Linked DNA regions of Homo sapiens: region 2 is linked to region 1. Evidence: promoter capture Hi-C in human tissues and cell types (Jung and others, 2019). All regions are on one chromosome and are shown on one strand. The core of a region is centred on a gene start or on the middle of the fragment in contact, and the rest is flanking DNA. Distances in the headings are between cores, read along the strand shown.

Evidence for each region. Contacts are between HindIII fragments. The study calls those that stand out against the background at their distance.
Region 2: a fragment that was not itself captured here is called in contact with the fragment with the promoter of KBTBD7 in region 1 in 1 of the 25 tissues and cell types used here (dorsolateral prefrontal cortex).

The regions. Positions count from the first base shown.
Region 1 is chr13:41,192,002-41,197,899 of GRCh38, reverse strand. It overlaps KBTBD7 (kelch repeat and BTB domain containing 7), which reads left to right and starts at 3,331. Exons shown (of 1, transcript NM_032138.7): 1 at 3,331-5,898. The coding sequence starts at 3,643. The coding sequence ends at 5,697. The region is part of intron 3 of KBTBD6-DT (KBTBD6 divergent transcript); the gene reads right to left. RefSeq lists enhancers at 3,161-3,250, 3,561-3,830, 3,175-3,881, 3,882-4,589. The HindIII fragment of the contact is 7,226 bases long and covers 1-5,898 here.
Region 2 is chr13:41,914,314-41,920,211 of GRCh38, reverse strand. All of the region lies in intron 2 of VWA8 (von Willebrand factor A domain containing 8), which reads left to right. Among named protein-coding and RNA genes, the nearest start is that of VWA8, 44 kb to the left of the region's middle. RefSeq lists enhancers at 2,208-2,327, 3,437-3,516. The HindIII fragment of the contact is 3,772 bases long and covers 1,495-5,266 here.

The sequences.
Region 1 (5,898 bases), core at 2,082-4,581:
AAGTTAAGGCATTCTAGTGGGTATTCAGTGTTTTCTTATTGTGAATTTAATGTGCATTGGCCACCGGGTATACATGTTACCAATATTTTTTCCCAGTCTGTGGTTTATCTTTTGTTGTTTTCACTGCCTTTCCATAGGCAGCAGCTTGTAATTTTGTTGAAATTCACTTTTGAAATTCACTTTGTCTTTTTTTTATGATCTGTGTTTTTGGTGTCCCAAGAAAACTTTGCCAACCGCAAAGCTATAGTCTTCTATGTTTTCTTTTCTTTTCTTTTTTTTTTTTTTCTGAGACGGAGTCTCGCTCTGTCGCCCAGGCTGGAGTGCAGTGGCGCAATCTTGGCTCACTGCAAGTTACGCCTCCTGGATTCATGCCATTCTCCTGCCTCAGTCTCCTGAGTAGCTGGGCCTACAGGTGTCTGCCACCATGCCCAGCTAATTTTTTGTATTTTTAGTAGAGACAGGGTTTCACCGTGTTAGCCAGGATGGTCTCAATCTCCTGACCTCATGATCCGCCTGCCTCAGCCTCCCAAAGTGCTGGGATTACAGGTGTGAGCCACTGCACCCGGCCCTATGTTTTCTTTTTGAAGCTTTATAGTTTCCACTTTTCCATTTAGTATTAGGAGAAATTTTGAATTAATTTTTTGCTTATGGTGTAAGGTAGGGGCAAGGGCAACTTTCTGTCTTACATTCTTGATCCAGTTGTTCCAATAACATTTGTTGAAAAGAATTTTCTTTCTTCATTGAATTGCATTGGTATCATGCTGTATTTCTAAAATTTTAAATTTAATTCCTCAGTTGCACTAGCCACATTTCACGTACCCAAGAGCTACATGTGGCTTCTGGCTACTGTATCAGCCAGCACAAATATAAAATATTCCCAAGTTTTATGGGACAGCACATAGCTCTAGATCTTAGGGAATAGTGCCTAATAGATATCTTCAATTGTGTGACAGGTAACCTAAACCAAATAACACAGTAAGAGCAGATATAAGGAAGGTAAAAATCAGTCACTGCCTATATGAGGTACCTAGAGTAGTCAAAAGTCATAGAGACAAAGAGTAGAATGGCAGTTGCCAGAAGTGGGGGCTAGAGAGTTATTGTTTAAATGGGTACAGAGCTTCAGTTTTGTGATAGTGGCAAAACCGTGTGAATATATTTAATGCTAAAGAACTATACACTGAAAATGTTTAAATGGTAAATTTAGTGTTATGTATATTTTACCAATATTTTAAGAAGTTTTTTAAAATGGCCATTCCTGCGCTGGGCATGTGGCTCATGCCTGTAATTGCAGCAACTCAGAGGCTCAGGCAGGAAGAGTGCTTGACACCAAGATTTCCAGACCAGGCTGGCAACACAGTGAGACCCTGTCTATAATTTTTTTTTAATTAACTGGGTGTGGTGGTATGCATCTATAGCTCTAGTTACTTGGGAGGCTGAGGGCAAAGTATTGCTTGAGCACTGGAGTTTGAGGCAGCAGTGAGCTATTATGGTGCCACTGCACTCCAACCTGGGTGACAGGGCAAGACCCCATCTCAAAAAAAAAAAAAAAAAAGAAAAAAAAAAGGCTTTTTTCCCCAGCTGGTATTCACTGCAAGTCAGGAAACAATCATTGTTACTGATAATGACTGACTTGATTCTCTCTGGTGTATCTGAGGGATATCTAACATCTCTTTTTATTTACAGAGGAGTTATTAGAGCCCAGAGGCTGACTTAATTTAATGTGTCTACCCTAGAGTATTTCCAGTGGACTTCAGCTGATAAGTTGAAGTTATCTTCAGCTGATAAGAGAAAAACAATTTGAAAGTTATTCTCTTGTAATGTGTTATCCATACATGCATGTAACACTGATGATTTTCTTTATTAGGTTATGGTAACATAACAAACTAGCAGCAGGAGCAGTCATGGTTTTGTAATAAAAGTTATCTGAAAAAGTCTGTTACTGGTGGAGGGTGTCCAGGTTCTTGGCGTTTTGGACAAAAAATTGGACAAAACACATAAACAAAGCAAGGAAACAATGAAACAACAAAAGCAGAGATTTACTGAAAATGAAAGTACACTCCACAGTGGGGAGCGGGCCTGAGCATAGGGGCTCAAGGGCCCTGTTACAGAATTTCTGAAGGTTTAAATACCCTCTAGAGGATTCCACTGGTTACTTGGTGTACACCCTATGTAAATGAAGAGAATGAAGTAAAGTTACAAACTCATTTACTCAGCATACACCCTATGGAGAGGATCTTTCCTGTTATAGCTAAAGTGTGAATCAGCCTTATGTTCCCTGCCTCCAGACCCTATTTTCCTGCCTCAAATCTCTAATACTTGATTTTGATGATTTAACTGTTGATCCCAATGCAAATATAAAAGACTTTGTAAAGCATAGACTATACTATATATTAATTCAAGGAATGTCAGGGCATGTACTGATGTTGAATTCTGAGAATCATGTGCTTTTGTACAGAACAAAGTCTGTTTGTTGAAATATTTTGAGTTAAAATACTCCCTAAAACTCCTTAATAAAGGGAATTACATAATCTGTTAATTGATTTGTGGAACGGCAGTGAAAGAGGCTGTATTAGACGACTTGAAAACACTCATATTTGGAGCTTAACGAAAATACTCCTGCTCTCCAGAGATGAAATGTTAGTGAGAGCAGCAAATAATTTATTTTTATATGCTGGATTTGCGTATTTGAGACCATCTATTAATACTGTTCTTTAGGACCTCAACCTAGTCGTCTAAGACATCCTTATTAAACGAGACCAATAGATATCATTTAATATTGAAAATATTGTTAATGCCCTTCAAAATCTTTCGAAGGAATAAACATTAAAAACTAGAAATTCTTTGTAAAATTTTGCGGTTTAAAATAATACTCGGTTTCAAATTAGTGGGTGCCTCATTTATCATAAATTATAAAAGAGAATCTAACAGTTATTGGCTACATTCTAGGCACGGGGTAACGCTTTACTATTCTTCTAACCAAAAACATACATGTATCTAAGTATCCCATGTAAGGTATCATTGAACCACACAAAACCCTATGAAATACTGGCAGGGGGCGGTGGCTCACGCCTGTAATCCCAGCACATTGAGAGGCCGAGGCAGGAGGATAATTTGAGCCCTCAGGAGTTCAAGACCAGCCTGGGCAACAGTCTCTTCACCATCAAATCCAGGAGAATTAATTTCTACTGTTAGAGCAGTCAACTAAAGGACAGCTCGCGATATTACACAAACTACTACTCCCAACATGCAAAGCGGTTTCTTTCCCTCTGTCCCCGCCCGGCCGTCCGAGAGCCCCAGCAGGCCTCGGGGCGCGAAAGGCAACCTGGGAGCAGTAGTTCTCCCGGGCGCCTAGCGGGATCGCCAGCGCGGCAGTGGGGGCTTCCGCGGCTGCAAGCCAGCGGGTCCTGTGAGGGCGAGCGGAGGCGGAGAAAGGGCGCGGGAGTGAGAGAGGGTGAGTCAGCCACTGTCTATGCAATAAAGGGAGGCCTCACCGCGGGATAGGGCTGAATTCAGAAGTGCGGCCCGTGCCGCAGTCTGTTCCAGGACGCGGCTTGTCTTAGCGTCAGCGAGGGAAGGTTGAGGAGGAGCCAGAGCCTGGTCCTGCAGCCTTTCTCGCCGTCAGCGCCCGTCGCCATCTCCACCATGCAGTCCCGGGAAGACGTCCCGCGCTCTCGCCGCCTCGCCAGTCCCCGTGGTGGGAGGCGGCCCAAGAGGATTTCCAAGCCCTCGGTTTCGGCCTTTTTCACGGGTCCAGAGGAGTTAAAGGACACGGCCCATTCTGCAGCCCTGCTGGCACAGCTCAAGTCCTTCTACGACGCGCGGCTGCTGTGTGATGTGACCATCGAGGTGGTGACGCCTGGCAGCGGGCCTGGCACGGGTCGCCTCTTTTCCTGCAATCGCAACGTGCTAGCAGCTGCGTGTCCCTACTTCAAGAGCATGTTCACAGGTGGCATGTACGAGAGCCAGCAGGCCAGCGTGACCATGCACGATGTGGACGCCGAGTCCTTCGAGGTGTTGGTCGACTACTGCTACACGGGTCGTGTGTCTCTCAGTGAGGCCAATGTGCAGCGCCTGTACGCGGCCTCCGACATGCTACAGCTGGAATATGTGCGGGAAGCCTGTGCCTCCTTCTTAGCCCGACGTCTTGACCTGACCAACTGCACCGCCATCCTCAAGTTTGCAGACGCCTTCGACCATCACAAGCTTCGATCTCAGGCCCAGTCCTACATAGCTCACAACTTCAAGCAGCTCAGCCGAATGGGTTCAATTCGGGAGGAGACTCTAGCAGATCTAACCCTGGCCCAGCTGCTGGCTGTCCTACGCCTGGATAGTCTGGACATAGAGAGTGAGCGGACTGTATGCCATGTAGCTGTGCAGTGGCTGGAGGCTGCTGCCAAAGAGCGGGGTCCCAGTGCTGCAGAAGTCTTCAAGTGCGTGCGCTGGATGCACTTCACTGAAGAAGATCAGGACTACTTAGAAGGGCTGCTGACCAAGCCCATCGTGAAGAAGTACTGCCTGGACGTTATTGAAGGGGCCCTGCAGATGCGCTATGGTGACCTGTTGTACAAGTCTCTGGTGCCAGTGCCAAACAGCAGCAGCAGCAGTAGCAGCAGCAACTCTCTTGTATCTGCAGCAGAAAATCCACCCCAGAGACTGGGTATGTGTGCCAAGGAGATGGTGATCTTCTTTGGACATCCTAGAGATCCCTTTCTCTGCTATGACCCTTACTCGGGGGACATTTACACAATGCCATCCCCTTTGACCAGCTTTGCTCACACTAAGACTGTCACCTCCTCAGCTGTCTGTGTGTCCCCAGACCATGACATCTATCTAGCTGCTCAGCCCAGGAAAGACCTCTGGGTGTATAAACCAGCTCAGAATAGTTGGCAGCAACTTGCAGATCGCTTGCTGTGTCGTGAGGGCATGGATGTGGCATATCTCAATGGCTACATCTACATTTTGGGGGGACGAGACCCTATTACTGGAGTTAAGTTGAAGGAAGTGGAATGCTACAGTGTTCAGAGAAACCAGTGGGCATTGGTGGCTCCTGTCCCTCATTCCTTCTATTCCTTTGAACTCATAGTGGTTCAGAACTATCTTTATGCTGTCAACAGTAAGCGCATGCTTTGCTATGATCCTAGCCACAATATGTGGCTGAACTGTGCTTCTCTTAAACGTAGTGACTTTCAGGAAGCATGTGTCTTCAATGATGAAATCTATTGTATCTGTGACATCCCAGTCATGAAGGTCTACAACCCAGCTAGGGGAGAATGGAGGCGGATTAGTAATATTCCTTTGGATTCAGAGACCCACAACTACCAGATTGTCAATCATGACCAAAAGTTGCTTCTCATCACTTCTACAACCCCACAATGGAAAAAGAACCGAGTGACAGTGTATGAGTATGATACTAGGGAAGATCAGTGGATTAATATAGGTACCATGTTAGGCCTTTTGCAGTTTGACTCTGGCTTTATTTGCCTTTGTGCTCGTGTTTATCCTTCCTGCCTTGAACCTGGTCAGAGTTTTATTACTGAGGAAGATGATGCACGGAGTGAGTCTAGTACTGAATGGGACTTAGATGGATTCAGTGAGCTGGACTCTGAGTCAGGAAGTTCAAGTTCTTTTTCAGATGATGAAGTCTGGGTGCAAGTAGCACCTCAGCGAAATGCACAGGATCAGCAGGGTTCTTTGTAAATAGTATTTTGAGACACTAAGATGTTTCTACTGCTACGGAATGTATTTTAAACACATATCGTTTCTTTTTCTTGGAAAAAAAGTTGATTAGGACCACAGATTTGGTTTAGAAAGGGTAATATTTTGAAATACTACAAGGTTTAGACAGTCCATGAAATCGACCTGTTTAATAATTTACCATCCTGAAAGTCCAGAATTAAA
Region 2 (5,898 bases), core at 2,131-4,630, 720 kb before region 1:
CACAGTGGCAACTTGAGCCCTGGGAGATGAGATGTCACACACTAATTACTCTTGATGCTGGGATGGTGACACTCAGCAATAGCCCAGGTTCTGTGCAGCCAGGTGCAGCACTGTCAAGAACCCAGAAATGGCAAGGCACAGATACGGCCCAGGGGACAGGGAGCAGTACAGCCTCAGTCTACTGCCTCGGGAGGTGGGGCTCCTCAGCAGCTCAGATTCTGAGTTCCTAGTCCTGTTCTAGGGAGGAAAGGCCCTTTGGCCATTTGACCTGTAGGGCAGAGGCACAGCTCATCCAAGGCTGTGATTCCCTGGAAGTAAGATGCCGTATCAGCTTGGCCCTAAAATATACAGCTACGTGGGTTGGAGGAGGTGCTAGGTCCCTGAGAGGCAGGGTACAGTGTCGGCTATGGCACTGGGTAGGACATCTTCTCTGGTGTGCTGGAGGGTTGGGGCATCCAGGAGGATAGGATGTTGCATGGGTGTGGTGTCTGGGGGTAGTTTGATGCTGTGGGTCCCCAGTGAGAGCATCACTTCAGCTCAGGCCTTGAAGGGCAGGGTACACCAATGTCTGGGATGCAGGGGATGGAGCAGCTTCAGGGTAACTTGGAGCATAGCAGTAGCTAAATTCAGGGATTGGGGGCTACCAGGTAGCTGTGCTGCAGTGATGGCAAAGCCTCCAGGATGGAGGGGTGCAATGACTACCCATCCCTGGAACAGGATGCACTGGAGCAGTGGCTCTGGTTACAACACAGTAGCAGCTCAGGCAGGGGACTGGGGTAAGGCACAGTGTCGGTTTGTTCTCTGGGAGTAGCACAGAATGTGTACTCTGGGGAGCTCCCTCAGCTGGGCTCAGAGCCTGTGAGGACTGCAGGAATCTCTGGTAGCAAAGACTGCAGGTATCCATAGTAGTGATGCGAGCTGGTAGTGTCCTTCTGCTTACCTTTTTCCTGCAGAGAGAAATACCTCCTGGGTCCAAGCTGATCCCCAAATAGGGGCTGAGATCATCCTTGGCAGAGGCAAAGTTTCCTTTCCTTCTCTATGTGGCCATCCTGGGTTTCTGTGCTCTACAGGATTTCTCCTACTCCTTTGCAGTTCTCCAGGGCTCTCCTTTATTTATTTTGGTGGAAATGTCGTTTTTTCATTTGTTTGGCTTGGTTTTTTTATGGGGGAGGAGTGCTAGGAACTTCAAGTCAGCCATCTTACTGATACCACTTAGCAATGATCCCATGTGCTATGTAGAATTATGCTGTTTAGTCTCTAAATATTTGGAGATTTTCCAAAGATCTTTTTATTACTAATTTCTAATTTAATTTAATTTTGGTCGGAGAACACACTTTGTATGGCTTGAATCTTTGTGAAACGTATCTAGTGTTTTAAAAAATGACTATGTATATGTGTATCATTTAAGAAAATAATAGTATGTACTGTATATACTATTTTGTATATACAGAATGTTTTCTTACCTTTTTTTATTTGCAGACCATACTTTTGTATGTACAGACCATTTTCATAAAGCAACATATTGTGGACATTTCCTTATGTAAAATATTTTCTAAAGCATGACTTTAAAAAAATAACTTTTTTGCAGAACTAATATATTTTTGTCATTCAGAAATCAAAACAATATAAAAAGATATACATTGAGAAATTATATATTCACCCCTATTTTCATTCATGTTAATTCTCACAGTATTAGTTTCAGGGGAATCTGTCTTGCATTTTTCTATACAAACACAAGCAAATATACATGTATACTCTTATTTTTGTACCCTTACACAAAAAGTGAACAACATGACACTTAGTCATTGAATATGGATATGTATAATTATTTCATACATATTGATGAATTTTTCCAATTTTAAGAAAAGCTGAATATCTTCTCTGTGCTGAGCACTGTGCTGGCCAGTGCTGTAGATTTAGTTTTGATAACAGCTATATTGGATCATAGAAACATCAGCCCACTTTATAAATGATTGGCTTTATATAAGCTACGTAAGCTGATGTTTTATATATGTATTTTTCTTTTGATGTCTTCAAAGAACCTTATTTTATTCATCTTTGTATTCTTGGTGCTGAGCATATAGTAGGTCCTTAATAAATATAGCTGTGTGAATAAATTAATTTTTTAGTTCAGTTAGTTCGTGTTGTAAATAATGAGGACTTTGGTGCTAAATATTTTCACCCTTCATGTCCATTATATCTAACTACAGAATGTTACATGGTAAATAGGGGAAAGTTTAGCAGATGAGCACGTAGTTGCAGTGAGGAGGTTAGTCATGCTTCCTTTGAAATCTTGTGTTGTGATGTGGTAGAAAAATCAAATTCAGGGGCATGTTATGGGCCTAGATGTAGATTCTTTCTGAGCTATTTTGTGGGGTGATGAAATGGTAATGAAATGTCAAGTGAAAGTACTCTAACATAGGCTTTACCAGTGAGGATGTAGTAAGTACTGGGTTCCTTTCTCCCTTATTCTTCAGATTTGCCTCTAGGCCCAGCAGGTAATTTGAGTGTAAACTCAGGAGCCTATTCATATCCACCAAATCCACACTATACAGCCTGGTGTCCAGGGTACACAGCAGAGATAGGAGTTTGCAGGTGAGGATGAGACTTGAATAATTCTCCCGTACCTGGTTCTCATTGGCTGAGGGACTGGGCATGGTGCTTTACCTATAATCCTCACAAACCATACTCAATAAGTATTATTATCTTTATTTTGAAAATAAGGAAACTACAAATCTGCGTGTTCTGCACATGTATCTCAGAACTTAAAGTATAATTTAAAAAATTTAAAAAAGAAAATAAGGAAACAGACCTGAAAGAGTCAAAATGCTTGTCTAAGGACATGGATAAAAGACAGGATGAAAAATCACAGTAGGTCTGTCTGGCTTCAAAGACTTTTTTTTTTCCTCCATTATATTATGCTGCTTTTTGGGATACTAAGAAAACATCAACAGTTTTGAAGGATTTATTATAATAGAATCTGACCTATGCTTAATTTTCTAGAATTTTAATTTTAACTTTTATATGTATGAAAATTTGAGTTCATGAAGGGAGAAAATTATAATTTAGATAACTATGATAAAATTACTTTAAAGCCTTTGAATATGGCTGGGCAAAAAATAGTACATATTTTTTGAAAACAAATATTGGTTAGGAATTGAATCAGGGATTTAGGCCAGTATGAACTACATGTTTTTATCTTTACATAGAAAAGGAATCTTAGAATATAGGATCAAGCTCTTTGGGATTATTTTGACATCGGTTTATTATTATGTGGACTCCTGGAAGGTAGCATTTTGTGCCTGAAAACATTGAAGTTGGGGATTTCTCTCGTGTACTGTGCTATGTTTATATTAGGTTATGCATGGCAGTTTGGCACTTTGTTTTGCAGATGTTCGTAATGTACAGTCTTGAATCTTGTTTCTATTTCTGGCGTGCTTTTAAGTATGACTCATGTTTTCTTGAGGCCATTCTAAAAATACAGCTAGTTTCAAGCATTAATGTAAAATATACCACAGATACCACATAGCACTGCATGATGCTTTCTTTCAGTAGTTTAGTGCAATTTCCTGACAAATTAAATATAGACATGCTTTTTGGTAAAATACGCTATACTAAAACATGAATAAGTGAAAGTTGGATTTTCTTTGAGAAGTAGATCCTCTGATAACATAATATTCATTACAAAATAACTTTGAAATTTTAATAAAAGGAATAAAACATACCATTGATACCACCAAAAAGAAGTAGAACTAATGGCTGGAACAGCAAGTCTGCTAAATTTGATGTAGCCCTGAGAGGTCCACACTTGTAGGGAAAGTCTTGCACCTGAAGCTGGACACCTGTTGAAAAGCTTTTGGAGGGACTGTAGAACATAATGACTGAAATACAAGTTTTGGACTTAAACAACTTAGGTATAAATCTTGGTTTATGGACTTAGCAGCTATAGACAAATGATACTACATTTCCAATTTTGATTTTCTTATTGTAAAATGGGAGTAATGAGTATTTAACAAACACAGCATTTACTGTTATTAGACACTGTTCTAAGTGCTTAATATAATCCTCATAACAACTTTATAAGTAAGTACAATTGTATCTATTATACAGATGAGGAAACTGAGCAGAGAGGTTAAATAACTTGATTAAGGTTACATAGCTAGTAAATAGTAGAGTTGGAATTTGAACCCAGCCAATCTGTCTTGAATCTGTGTCTTTATACAATAGGTCTGCTGCTTTCTAGAATTGTTATGAGATCCTATGTGAAAAATCGTTTGTATGTTTACCTGGTACCTGATAGGAATGCAATAAATTATAGCCATTATTAGTATTGTTATTGAGGGAGAATAAAAGCAGGGAAAATGTATTTTCTTTGTGAAGGTATGCCATAGACTACAAGGCCAGCCATGGGATTCAGAAGTAGCTTATATGTATTAAGAAACTTATGTAAAATTGGAATGTGATGATGAGAGCCTTAGATATCCTGACAACTCCTACAGACTTACTCTAAAGGTAGAACTTATTCTCTACTGATTTCCTCGCTAAAAGTTTTATCTTTCAGAAGGTAAAGGAAATAGAGAGAAACTCTTTCTCTGGGCTTAATTGTGACAAACTCATTAGTGGTGTGCAGGCAACAGAGGCCTTGAGAAAAAATAATGACTACACAATATTTCTCAACTATGGTGCCATTGACATACTGGGCAGGATGAGACCATCTTGGTCATTGCATTTACCATCACAAAATATCAGTGGTGTACCAAATTATTTCTCATTTCCCAAAGCTTTACAACAACCCAAAGTACTCCCAGACATTTTCCAAATGCCTCCTGGCAGGCCTAGAATGGTAGCAGTATGGTCACCAGTTGAGAACCACTGCTGAGTGCTAAGAATAAAGGAAGGACTGAGACTAGTCAGATGTGCCTTAAGGCAGTGTTTCTCAGTACATGTGCATCATGCTGAAGTGGAAGACACTCCCAGGAGCATAAACATGATTATACATAATTCCCAGGGCTCTAGCTTTAAATAACTCCATGCTTTTCTCTTCTACTTAAGAAAGTACACTGCTGTACAAATGTCTCTATTATGGCTATAACCTCAATTCTGCTCCAGTTTGCTTCAAAAAATGAAAAGATAAGTTATTCCTAAACATCAGCACTTTATTATACAGACAATTTATGAGGGGCAGGCCTCACATTTGATTAGGAACTGCTACCTTAGATTTTAAAAAATCTTGAAAATGATTATGGTTCCAAGGTCAAAACATTCAAAACAAACTGGAAGTATAGAACTAAATTGAGACTCCATAATTATAAACAGTTACCAATAGTCATAAATAATAAAAGGTGGGAGGAAGTTAAAGAAACCAACTTGGCTTGAACTTCTAGAACTTTACAAATTTTGGATTTTAAATTATCAAGTCCAGATAATGGAAGGTCAGGCACATTGCCAAAGTTGAATACAAAGTGACACAAAACTGTGAGAGTACTATAGAGAATGCCTGTGGCCAAATTAAGCTGAGATTTATGAAAATGTAAAGAAAAAACCCAAAGTGTTTTTAAGTTTTTAATTATATGTTTGATATCAGAGTAGGAAGAGGTAATAGATTTACAGCATAGAGAACATTGTGTAGTTTTACTAATAAAGAAGTTAAGGTGTCTTAACTCTTATTTTGTTTCATCCTTAAACAGCAAGGAGGCTGACTTGTCTTGAAGCAAGAAAGAATAGACTGTATATTATAAAGATTGATTTAAGCTTCAAGTAGAAAAGAAAATAGGTAAAAGGGCATGTGATAGTTATAAATAAGATTAACTCTCTAGACTCAGGCCAGTTGCATGCTAGCATCATGAAACTACCTAATAGATTGCTAAAAAGTATAGGTTCTTAGAGCAGTATTTTTCA